Regions from separate parts of the Homo sapiens genome. Here region 1 is linked to region 2. Evidence: promoter capture Hi-C in 16 types of primary human blood cells and fetal thymus (Javierre and others, 2016). All regions are on one chromosome and are shown on one strand. The core of a region is centred on a gene start or on the middle of the fragment in contact, and the rest is flanking DNA. Distances in the headings are between cores, read along the strand shown.

The links. Contacts are between HindIII fragments. The CHiCAGO score rates a contact against its expected background, and 5 or more counts as called.
Region 1: the fragment with the promoter of TREH here is called in contact with the fragment with the promoter of DDX6 in region 2 in 4 of 17 cell types (non-activated CD4 T cells, naive CD4 T cells, naive CD8 T cells and 1 more); the score reaches 7.3 in non-activated CD4 T cells.

The regions. Positions count from the first base shown.
Region 1 is chr11:118,677,424-118,683,537 of GRCh38, forward strand. It overlaps TREH (trehalase), which reads right to left and starts at 2,227. Exons shown (of 15, transcript NM_007180.3): 1 at 2,116-2,227. The coding sequence starts at 2,204. RefSeq lists enhancers at 1,457-2,118, 2,119-2,778. The HindIII fragment of the contact is 8,736 bases long and covers 1-6,114 here.
Region 2 is chr11:118,788,948-118,795,118 of GRCh38, forward strand. DDX6 (DEAD-box helicase 6) reads right to left here and starts at 2,217. Exons shown (of 14, transcript NM_004397.6): 1 at 2,151-2,217. RefSeq lists enhancers at 817-1,374, 833-1,012, 2,323-2,432, 3,049-3,604, 3,993-4,102 and silencers at 1,213-1,292, 1,923-2,252, 2,703-2,992. The HindIII fragment of the contact is 4,863 bases long and covers 1-2,400 here.

The sequences.
Region 1 (6,114 bases), core at 977-3,476, 110 kb before region 2:
CTGTAAGAAACCATAATCAAGGCTGGGCACGGTGGTTCATGCCTGTAATCCCAGCACTTTGGGAGGCTGAGGCAGGCGGATCACAAGGACAAGAGATTGAGACCATTCTTGCCAACATGGCAACACCTCTGTCTCTACTAAAAATACAAAAATTAGCTGGGCGTGGTGGCAGGTGCCTGTAGTCCCAGCTACTGGGGAGGCTGAGGCAGGAGAATCGCTTGAACCCAGAAGGTGGAGGTTGCAGCGAGCCGAGATTGCACCACTGCACTCCAACCTGGCGACAGAGCGAGACTCTGTCTCAAAAAAAGAAAAAAAATGAAACCATAATCATGGTATAACCATTTGGAAGTGTTAGTGAATCACTGGCCTGAGGTTGGTCTTAGGGAACACCAGTAAAGTCATCTTCCCCTACATTTGGCAAACAGCCTAATGCTTGACAAAGCACTGGACCACCCAGCCTCTCTGAAGTCCTCATTACAATTGCTCAGGACAAAACCTATTAATTATCCCAGGTACACTTTTCCCCTTTATATTCCACAATTGTCATGGGCAAGCACTGTCAACTCTCCCTGTAACACACACCCTCTATTGAACCCCTTGTCTCTGTCTCTAGTCTAACCACTGGAACCCAAGCCCAAACCTTGTTGCCTGGAGCCCCGCTCTCCCCGGACCTGTTCCCACTCTGCCCCAATCACACAGGCCTTCGTCCCAATCCCTGAACAGTGCGTCAGGGCCTCTGCATGGCCCTTTCCATGCCTGGACTGTCCTCTCCCAGATCAGCTCAGCAATGGTTCCTGCCACAATTCTGCTTACACATCACCTCCTCAGAGACACCGTCCCTCCCCATCCTCTCTAACACACCCTCTGCTCACCCACACCAGCGGGCCCTAACTTCTCTCTACTTCAAACTGTGCTTCTGTTACTGTTTTGCTTCTATTATTATTATTATTATTATTTGAGATAGAGTTTTGCTCTTGTTGCCCCGACTGGAGTGCAATGGCATGATCTTGGCTCACTGCAACCTCCACATCCCAAGTTCAAGCGACTCTCCTGCCTCAGCCTCCCGAGTAGCTGGGATTACAGGCGTGCGCCACCATGCCCGGCTAATTTTGTATTTTTCATAGAGATGGGGTTTCACCATGTTGGCCAGGCTGGTCTCGAACTCCTGACCTCAGATGATAGCTCCCACCTTGGCCTCCCAAAGTGCTGGGATTACAGGCATGAGCCACCGTGCCCAGCTGTTTTTCTTCTATTATTATTGTTCTTGCAGGAGCTGGTAAAGTGGCTGATGTGGCCACAGCTCCATAAATCCATGTGGAACGAAGGGTGGACATCGCCTGAGTCCAGGAGACAGGACAGGGTCACTCATCTCTGTCCCTGGTGATGGAAACTCAGGCTCAGGAAAGAGCCTTGACCTGCCCTGGGTCACAGAGAGAATATGAGGGTCAGGGCTCAAGCCCAAGTGCTGTCTTCAGGCCCTTAGGCTGCCTCTCACACCCAGACTAGGAAGCTGGAGCAGAAAGTTTGCTAGAACAATCCTGAGAAGAGGCCTGCACAGTTCAAGGGGCAGCTTGGAGGAGGAGAGGAAGGGAGGGCGGGCTCTGGCCAGCAGGCTCTTGGACCTCAGGCCAGGCTCTGGCAGCTGCGTCTGGTATCAGGACTGCAGGTCCCGACAGGGGGCGGTGGCTCACGCTTGTATTCCCAGCACAGTCGCCAAGCCTAATGTCCCTTCCAACGGTGGAAAATTTTGGTAAAAATCAATGACAGGCTGGGCGTGGTGGTGCATGCCTGTGATTCCAGCTACTCAGGAGGCTGAGGCACGAGAATCTCTCGAACCCGGGAGGTCTAGGCTGCAGTGAGTGGAGATGGTGCCACTGTACTCCATCTGGACGACCGAGCAAGACTCTAACAACAACAACAAAAAAAACGGACTGCAGGTGCAGTGCCCAGCACAGAGCCTGCTACATAGGAATTCTCATTTTCTTCTCTTCCCTACTCTTTCCTTCCTTTATAATCTCTTCCTTTCCCTCTGAAGTACCGACCCCAGAGCTTGAGATCTCATCCCAGCCTCCCTCTTATTGCCATCCTCCCCTGCTGCCTTCCCCACACCCCTACCTCTCACAGGGTGGGGGTAGGGCCTCCTGGGACCCCAGTCCCAGCCCCAGCAGCAGTAGCAGGCACAGCTCCCAGGTCCTCCCTGGCATGGTGGCTGTGACTGTGACTGAATGAGCAAGCCCAGGCACCTTCGGCTTGCTGGGCACAGCCTGGCTCACCTGCCTGTCCAAGTCGGCCAAAGTCCAGCCTTTGAGGCGTGGCCACCTGAGGGGACGTGTGCTTGGTCTGTGTGTGGCCCGCTTGCCCCTCCTGCTCTCAGGGCACAGTGGCCACCTCCCTTGCTTCTACTTTGCCTCTTCTATTTCACAGTCTCAGCTGGTGCCAATGGCTCAGGCCCTTCCCTCAGAGCATGGTGGTGGGGGTGGGGAGTGGGCACCCAAAGGCCAGGGACACAGTCGAGGCCACACACCTGTAACCTGGATGCCAGGTTCCTTGGGTGGCCCCAAGACCACCAACCTCAGAGAGTTACCATTTCCCTTAACATTTCAAATGGAATGGCTCAAGATCCTGTCCCTGGTGTGGTGTGAAATTCAGGGCCTCTCACTGTTATCTGCAAGAGATACAGCGGAAGCACAGGACAGTAGAACCATTCTGTCTGGGGAGGACTAAGGGAGACCCACAATAGTGTGTCATTTGTAATGAGTCTTTTTTTTTTTTTTTTTGAGACTGAGTCTCACTCTGTCGCTAGGCTGGAGTGCAGTGGCGTGATCTCAGCTCACTGCCACCTCCGCCTCCCGGGTTCAAGCAATTCTCCTGCCTCAGCATCCTGAATAGCTGGGACTACAGGTGCCCGCCACCACGCCCAGCTAATTTTTGTATTTTTAGTAGAGACGGGGTTTCACTGTGTTGGCCAGGATGGTCTCAATCTCTTGACCTCATGATCTGCTCGCCTTGGCCTCCCAAAGTGCTGGGATTACAGGCGTGAGCCACTGCGCCAGTCCTAATGAGTCTTGATGACCGCATAGGAGTTTGCCAAGGGAAATGGGCTGGAGACCACTACAATGTATGCAGAGCATGTGAAGAGAAGAGCAAACCCCTCAGCCTAGCTGCAGAGAACTTGGTGTTCATGCAGGGAAGGGTTTTGAGATAGACTGGAGGAACATGTTGGCACCAGTCTGGAAATGGTCTTTGCCAAGCCAAGGAATGTAATTCCTTGTAATTCCCCAAAGTGGAACCAGCAGAGAAGTTTGTGAGCTTAAGAAGCAGATTCAGGCTGGGTGCAGTGGCTCATGCCTGTAATCCCACCACTTTGGGAGGCCGAGGCGGGTGGATCACCTGAGGTCAGGAGTTCAAGACCAGCCTGGCCAACATGGTGAAACCCCGTCTCTACAAAAATACAAAAATTAGCTGGGCATGATGGCGGGTACCTGTAATCCCAGCTCCTCAGGAGGCTGAGGTGGGAGAATCGCTTGAACTCGGGAGACAGAGGTTGTAGTGAGCCGAGATCATGCCACTGCACTCCAGCCTGGGCGACAGAGTAAGTCTCTGTCTCAAAAAAAAAAAAAAAAAAAAAAAAGCAGATTCGGTTACTTTAGGAGGCTCATCCCCTCAACATATGGAAGGTGAGCTGAAGGGACAGGGGACAGGGGGTGGGCAAGGCACATGGAGTTTAATGATAGGCATGACCTCTCCTGAAGGACTTAGGTTTGCAGTTAAGGATGTCAGTTGTGGCACCTGAGCAGTGTTTACTGCTATTAAAAAGAAAAACCTTAGACAAATTAAATTTAACCATTTATTCAAGCAAAGAAATGACTCATGAATCAGGCACCACTCTGAACTAGTAAAGGTTCAGATAGCTCCACCCAGTAATGTGGGCAGCTGGCATTGTTTTTTTTGTTTGCTTTGTTTTTTGAGACAGGGTCTCGCTCTGTTGCCCAGGCTGGCATGCAGTGGCTCCATCACAGCTCACTGCAGCCTTGATCTCTCAGGTTTAAGGGATTCTCCCACCTCAGCCTCCTGAGCAGCTGGGACCACAGGCACATGCCACCACGCCCAACTAATTTTTAAATTAAAAATAATTTTTTTTTTTTTAGAGATTGGGTCTCCCTATGTTGTCCAGGCTGGTGTGGAACTCCTGAGCTCAAGCAATCCTCCTGCCTCATCCTCCCAATGTATTGGGATTACAGGTGTGAGCCACCATGCCTGGTCAACAATTTTTAAGTGTACAATTCAATTTCCTTTTATTACATTCACAATGCTGTGCAACCACCCTTGCATTCTTTGGATAAATCTCACTTGGTCATGATGTCTAATCCTTTTAATAAACTGTTGGTTTTGGCTTGCGAGTATTTTTTTGAGGAATTTTGCATCAATATGTATAGAGCATATTTGACTGTAATTTTCTTTCCTTGTTTTGTTTTGTTTTTTTTTTTTTTTGGACACATAGTCTTGCTCCATCACCCAGCAGGCTGGAATACAGTGGCATGAACACAGCTCACCACAACCTCGACTTCCTGGGGCTCAAGTGGTCATCTGGCCTCAACCTTCTGAGTAGCCAGGACTACAGGTGCATGCCACCACGCCTGGGTAATTTTTAAATTTTTTTGTAGAGACTACATCTGACTGTGTCGCCCAGGCTGGTCTTGAACTCCTGGCCTCAAGTGATCCTCCCGCCTTGGCCTCCCAAAGTGTTTCTCCCCAAGTGTGAGCCACCATGCCCAGCCCTCTTGTGATGTCTTTATCTGGTTTTAATATCAGGGTAATGTTAGCCTCATAGCATGAGTTAGGAAATATGCCCCTCTTCTATTTGTGGAAGTGTTTGAGAAGGATTGTTAATTCTTTAAATGTTTGGTAGAATTTACCAATGAAGCCATCTGGTCCTGGACCGTATTAGGCAGAAACAATACATATATGGGGGATGGGGGTAGAGAGAGAGAGTTTGAGAGGTAGCTGGCAAGTCCAAAATCTCTAGGGTAGGCTGGCAGGCTGGAGAAACAGGGAAGAAGCTGCAGTTCAAGTCTGAAGGCAGCATGCTGAGAGAATTCCTTCTTCTTCTGGGGAGGTCAGTCTTTTTCAAATTAAAGTCTTCAACTGATTGGATAAGGCCCATCCAAGTTAGGGAGGGTAACCTGCTTTACTCAAAGTCTACAAATTTAAATGTTATTTTCATCTAAAAAATATCTTCACAGAAACATCTAGAATAATGCTTGACCAACTATCTGGATACCTTTGCCTAGCCATGTTGACACATAAAATTAAACATCTTTTTTTTTTTTTTTGAGATGGAGTCTCGCTGTGTTGCCCAGGCTGGAGTGCAGTGGCATGATCTTGGCTCACTGCAACCTCTGCCTCCTAGGTTTAAGCGATTCTCCTGCCTCAGCCTCGTGAATAGCTGGGATTACAGGCGCCCACCACCACACCCAGCTACTTTTTGTATTTTTAGTAGAGATGGGTTTTCACCGTGTTAGCCAGGCTGGTCTCGAACTCCTGGCCTCAGGTGATCCACCCGCCTTGGCCTCCCAAAGTGCTAGGATTACAGGCATGAGCCAACGTGCCCAGCCAATGTTCTTTAAAAAAACACATGACTCTACAGTGATTGTACTAACTTACATTCTCACCAACAGTATATGAGGGTTCCTTTTCTCCACATCCTCACCAGCATTTGTTATTGCCTGTCTTTTGGATAAAAGCCATTTTAACCGTAGTGAGATAATATCTCATTGTAGTTCTGATTTGCATGTCTCTGATGATCAGTTATGTAGCGCACCTTTTCATATACCTGTTTGCGACTTGTATGTCTTCTTTTAAGCAAGGTTTATAGTGATTCAGATCTTCTGCCCATTATGCAGACTGGCTTTGTTCTGGGGGAACACCTCATTATATTGCGCAGGCTGGTCTCAAACTCCTGGGCTCAAGCAATCCTCCCACCTTGGCCTCTCAAAGTGCTAGGATTACAGGTATGAGCCACCATGCCCAGCCAGTAGTGTTTTTTTTTTTTTTTTTTGAGACGAAGTCTTGCTCTATCACCCAGGCTGGAGTGCAATGGCATGATCTTGGCTC
Region 2 (6,171 bases), core at 967-3,466:
TAGGATTACAGGCGAGAGCCACCGTGCCCGGCTGAAATCTTACTTTTAATTGGAGTTAATAAAAACATACAAAGACACGAAAACAAAGCCCTACTCTGTTGGCTTTTGATTTAACCCCGTTACACTTTTTTTTTTTTTTTTTTTTTGAGGCGGAGTCTCGCTCTGCCGCCCAGGTTGGAGTGCAGTGGCACAATCTTGGCTCACTGCAACCGCCGCCTCCTGGGTTCAAGCGATTCCCCTGTCTCAGCCTCCCGAGTAGCTGGGATTACAGGCGCCTGCCACCACGCGCAGCTAAATTTTTTCTATTTTTAGTAGAGACGGGGTTTTGCCATGTTGGCCAGGCTAGTATCGAACTCCTGACCTCAGCTGATCCGCCTGTCTTGGCCTCCCAAAGTGCTGGGATTACAGGTGTGAGCCACCGCTCCCAGCAACCCCGTTACATTTCTTATATAAAATACACTAGCTTACGAGTGCTGATTCTTTCTGCCATACACCAAGGCATGTGAAACTCAAAATTTTAAAGTCAACAGATCTCAACATTTATGAAGAAAATGCTCCTTGATTATGCCTTCCTTAAAAAAAAAATGAACAAGTTGCTCACAAGCAAATCCTGATTATCACATACACAAAGCTGTTTACTTCAGACTCTGACCTCTTAAGCAGATATGGTTAACAGCTACTTTCCTGTATTGACGGTTTTATATTATGATCAGCGATATCACGCAGTTCACAGAGACTTAGCTGTTTGCAGAGCACTAAGAGGATGAAAAGGGCAACCTCTAAAGACCGAACGATATCATCATTACTGTCCATCATGCACAGTAAGACCTCCTATATCCTTAAATCCAAAATGAGACTATGTGATAACTGCTCCCTTCTTAAACTGAAACCTGCACTGCAGCTTTTTCTCAGAGAAGGAAATATTCCTCCTACCCCTTCCCAATTTAGATTTGCAAGTTTTCTACATTTTCAAAAACAAAAAACAAAAAAACAAAAAACAAACAACAAGAAACGTAGACTAGTTGGGAGGAGCCCCTAGCGGAGTTAATTACAGCACTTCACAGATCGTAGTTAGCAATTGACAGTTTCACACCCAAAACAGTATCGTCATCGCCAACAAGAGCTTTTGTTTGCAAATGCAGCGCAGTTTTTCTAGCTTTGCCTGCAAGTTGGAGTGACTGGGTTTTATTCTGAAGGGAAATGGGGGCTGAGGAAGAGAAAGGAGAGAGATACGGGAAAGAGTCATTGACTAATGACTGGAACCCCGTAACTGAAAGGAAATTTCTTGTCCCCCCGCACCCCGCCCCACGCCCCAAACACACACACTTCTGACCATAAACACAAAAGGTTGGGGCTCTGCAATCTTATCTGCGCAATATGAGCCAGCAACCGCTCCATTAGTAGCAAACAATAGGGACTCCCCCAAGGAGGCCCCAAATGGACCCCCTAAACCAGAAATCCCCCTCCTTTCCTCCAAGAGTCGGGGGCTCCATAAATACCCTCTTGTTATTGACCCGCAAGGCCTACTGCAATCAAGCAGCGGCCGGTTTGCTTCTAAACCGAGCCCTCCAATACAGCATGTCCCTGCCGCCCCCTATAGGGCCGCCTCGTACCCTATAACCTCCACCATCATCCCCCTAAGTCCTTGCCGCCCCCTTCGGCCTCATATTCCCTCATCTTCGATAAAGCTACTCCGAGTACTTAGCCTGTTCCTCCTGCCGACCCTGCTGCGCACCACATTCCTATATTCGCCTCCTCTCAGGCGCTCCCACCCCACACAGCTGCCGACCGCCTTCCTCCCCAGGCCCGGCCAGGCCTTAGGCCTCCGCCCGAGAGTCCCCCAGAGCCGGCCCGGGGGGCTCCCCACAGCCCCCAAAGCACCGCTGACCTCGACCCCACCACCTCACCCCAAGCCTCGCGACTCGGGCCCGTGTCCTACCAACGAGGCCACTCCCGCTCGGCACCCTCGGTCCTTTATTGTTGACTCGAAGCTCCCAAAATGGCGGACGCTCCTTCCTCCTCGGAAACCTCCGCCCGCCCCCACCCAGCCCTCTCGCTACGGCCTCCTCTCGCCCCCGCCCCCGCCCCGCTCCGAGGGGCGCGCAGGCCAGCCGCCCGAGCCGCCGGCTCCCCCGGCTGTCCAGCCCTACCTCCTCCGCTGCCCGCTCTCGTGGCGCCGCCGAAGTCGCCGCCTGGCTGAGCTAACTCGGCTCCTCTGCCCCCTCCCTCGCTCGCCCGTTCGCCCGCCCGCCGCCTCCTCCCTCTTTCCCTGCCTCTCCGCATGGCGGCGACCGCGGCTCCTCCTCCACTCAAGATGGCGAAACCTCGGCCGCCGCGGCTATATTCGCCGCGGCGTCACTGCCTTCCTGGCCTGGTGGTGAGAGGAAGTCGGGCCGCGAAAGCTTCCTGAGGAGAAAATGGAGGGCCCTTCTCTCACACCGACGAGAAAAGTTCGAGGGGGAAATACGAGTTCCTTTCTGAAGGGACAGGACGGCTGCTTTTCCACAGCCGCGACGTGATTGAGAAATGGTGGCTGGCAAGGGTAGGCCTGCCTTCGCCCCTCCAAAGTAAAAATCGGGAGTTGAGACCAGAGGAACATCTCTTTATTACATGACTAAGGATATGTTTTGAAAACTGGCCCCCGGGCAGCTGCTCGGGGACAGGAAGCTGACCTGACTTCTCCAGCTGGCCGGGGAGGCTGATGCCGGGCCTAAGGGGCCGCGTCCGAGCCTCTCGGGGCGCGCCTCCATGCAGGAAGGCGCGGAACTAGCGACCCGGAGACGCCGGGCGCGCGTCTGAGTGTGGGGGCAGGAAGGGGGGCCGACCGGGCCCGGAGGCCGCACCAGGCAGGAGGGAGGACTCCAGAGAGTGCGCGGGGGGCGCTGCGCGGTGGGACGGGGCGAGCCTGTAGGGCGCGCCTGGCGGCGGGTAGGCTCCGGGCTTGAGGGTGCGCCTGGGGGCGCTGGTTGTGGGGGAAGGCACCGGGCTTGAGGGTGCACCTGGGCGGGGGAAGTCTTCGGGCATGAGGGCGCGCCTGCGGGTGGTATGGGGGGGTACACCGAGCTTGAGGGTGCGCCCGGGGGGCTCTCATGTGAAGGGTACCAGGCTTGAGGGCGCCCCTGCGGGGGGCGCAGAGGCACCGAGCTTGAGGGTGCGCCTCGGGGGTCTGCGGGGGGAAGGCACCGGACTTGAGCGTGCGCCGGGAGAGGACGGCGGGGGACCGGACTGTGAGGGCGTATCTTGGGGGACCTGTCTAGGAGGAACCGGGAGGTGAAGGCACAACTGGGGGTGAGGCGGGGGCAGGGGCCGGGCTGTGAGAGTGCGACTGAGGGGGGATTACTCCGGAGAGCACGGAGCTGGGGGCGTTGCGCAGGTGGAGTGGGGAGGCCTGGTGGAGAGGGTAGCAAACCGAGAGAGCGCACCGGGGTGGTGGGGGGAGAAGCTGGACTGTAAGGTGAAGAGTTAGTAGGGCGCAACCGTCTTCTCCTGCCCTCGAAGGGCAAGACTGAAGAAAGTAGGGGCGGAGGAGGCCGGGCCCTCCACTAAAGGGAGGGAAGCTAGTGAAGCGTCAGTTATAATAGAAATAGGAATTCAGTAAGGAAATGGAGAAGCTTAAGGCAAAGGGTGACTCTCCGGCCTGACCCTCACTATGAAGATATTTATGTATGTTCCCATAATACTTTTCAGATCCCAATGTCTGTGTTTATCCTTGACAGAAATAATAGAACTGCTGTCTTCTTCCAAGTTAAACAAAACTTTGGAGCTAAAAGCTAGCTAGGTCAAGAGAAACAAAATCTAATCCTCACCCAATTGAGAGACTGAATATACAAAGAATGGCCAAACCTAACCATGACCTCCTACCCATAACCTCTTCAGTAATCGGCCAGAAGGGTCAGGACTTAATCTTTAACCGGCAGCTTCCCTATTTCTTGCCCCTGCTTCCAGCTCTGGGCCAATCAGAGAAAGCCAAATGTGCTCCTCACACCAATCGCGTAAGAAGCCCTGCTTCTAGTATAGCCCTCCTCCAACTTCCCGATGCCAACATCCTCCAATCAGAGCCAACCTGAAGTTTCTCCCTTTTTTCAGTATATGTAAAGCTTTTCCACTCCCCTGCCTGCCTATGAGTCTGTTAAATCAAGTGATGGGTCGCGGCTGACTCTTGCCAGCTCTGAGTAAATAGCCTATTCTCATTTGGTGGTCGTTATTTCTACACAGCCGGTGGGAAGGTGGTGGAGAATAGTGAAGACTATTCTTAAGGTTAAAAAGAAGGTTCGGCTTACATTTTTTTTTTATTTTAAATTTACAGCATGGCGTCTCCAGCCCAGGTTTTAAAATACCTTCTAATGTAAGGAAATAGCCCTGCACCTTGTGCCCATCCTAGAGAGAAAATGGTTTCTTAATAAAAAATGTATGAGGCCTTTTTTGCCCCAATATCTTCCCAAGCAGAGGAATGTGAAGGGGGGTTGGGCCAAGAAGTGAGTGGTAGGAAGAGAGGCCTACGGATTTAAAACAGGCCACTGCTTGGAGGGGTGTCTTTCCTAAACCACTGAAGAAATTGAACCAGGCAAAGGAAGGGGGTTCACACCCACAAATAAACTATAACCTACAAAAGGAGCCCGGGTTCACATCCACAAATAAATTGTAACCTACACAAGGAGTCTGGTTGAGGTCACAAAACAAAAGCCAGGAGGCAACCAAAAGTAGAATATGAAATAGGTGCTGCCTTCTCACCTAGGAATCCTTCCAGGGCTAAAACCTTCAAATATTCTGCTTTTAAGGTAGTCAGATACCCTCACAACTCATTTACATCAGCCCTTCTCTGTTTTCAAGTGAGAAGCATAGATGGTTTAGAATTAAGCTATGAACTCTTGGATCTTTTCTTCCAAGTTTAGTGTTAGTGGTAGATAGGTCTAGTCCAACTATCTCAATACATTGTTTTCTCCCTAGTTAAAACAGATTTGCAAGAATCATTTGTATGACACTTTAGGAATACAGATAAATTGCTAGTGCAAATAATATCCTTATATTTATAAAATATATGTGTACTTTTAAAAAAGTTATATGAATCCAATCCTCTGGCCTTTTAGTTAGTATTGAGTGTGATAGTTGTGGGAGATCTGTAGTAAATACGGTTTCTGAAGGGTGTGCTATCATCCCTAATGAACTCACCTATTAATTGTGGTAAAGAGTTTTTCACTTGGGCTGGGCACGGTGGCTCACGCCTGTAATCCCAGCACTTTGGGAGGCCGAGGCAGGTGGGTCGACTGAGGTCAGGAGTTCCAGACCAGCCTAGCCAACATGGTGAAACCCCGTCTGTACTAAAAAAAAAAAAAAGAAAAAAAATAGCTGGGCATGGTGGCAGGTGCCTGTAATCCCAGCTACTTGGGAGGCTGAGGCAGGAGAATCCCTTGAACCTGGGGAGGCGGAGGTTGCAGTGAGCCAAGATCGTGCCATTGCACTCCAGCCTGGGCAACAAGAGCAAAACTCCGTCTCAAAAAAAAAAAAAAAAAGAAAAAGAAAAAGAAATGAAAAAAAAAGTTTCCCAACATGTATTAGCCGTTTTCATGTTGTCTGTATTCACCTTTGCGTCATCACCCCTCTTCAATTTCCTCCTGGAATTCAATCACAGTAATGGGTTATCTCAGCATATATTATTCGCCAGTCTCACATCCTGACCTCATTTATTTACCTAAAAATAACCAGAACGAAAAAAAAATCACAGATTAATTTACACTTGATTTCACTTTAACTTCAATTTAAAATACTTAGAATCCAGAATTCCTAGTAAGTTGAACCTGGAATACGCAGACCTGTGATAATATCTTAAACACTCAAATGTTTTCAACTTGCTGAAATGGAGTTCACACTTTTAACATTCTGGGCTTTTTTTTTAAAAGGGACTATAATACTTTAACTCAAATTACAATCAAATGTGTTCATTACCTATAAGAAAAAAATTTTACCTATCTCATATCTTCAGTGAAATGATTATATCACATCTGGCTAAGCTTTACCATTTGGTATTTGCCCTCTTTCAAGTGATTTGCAGTATAATACTTTGATTTCCCAAAATTTCAACATACAAAGTTATTTTCCAAATATGCTCAAGCAACATCTGATCATCACTAACAAGACTAAAGGCTAATATGCCCAAGGAGCCAAGTCCCGTTT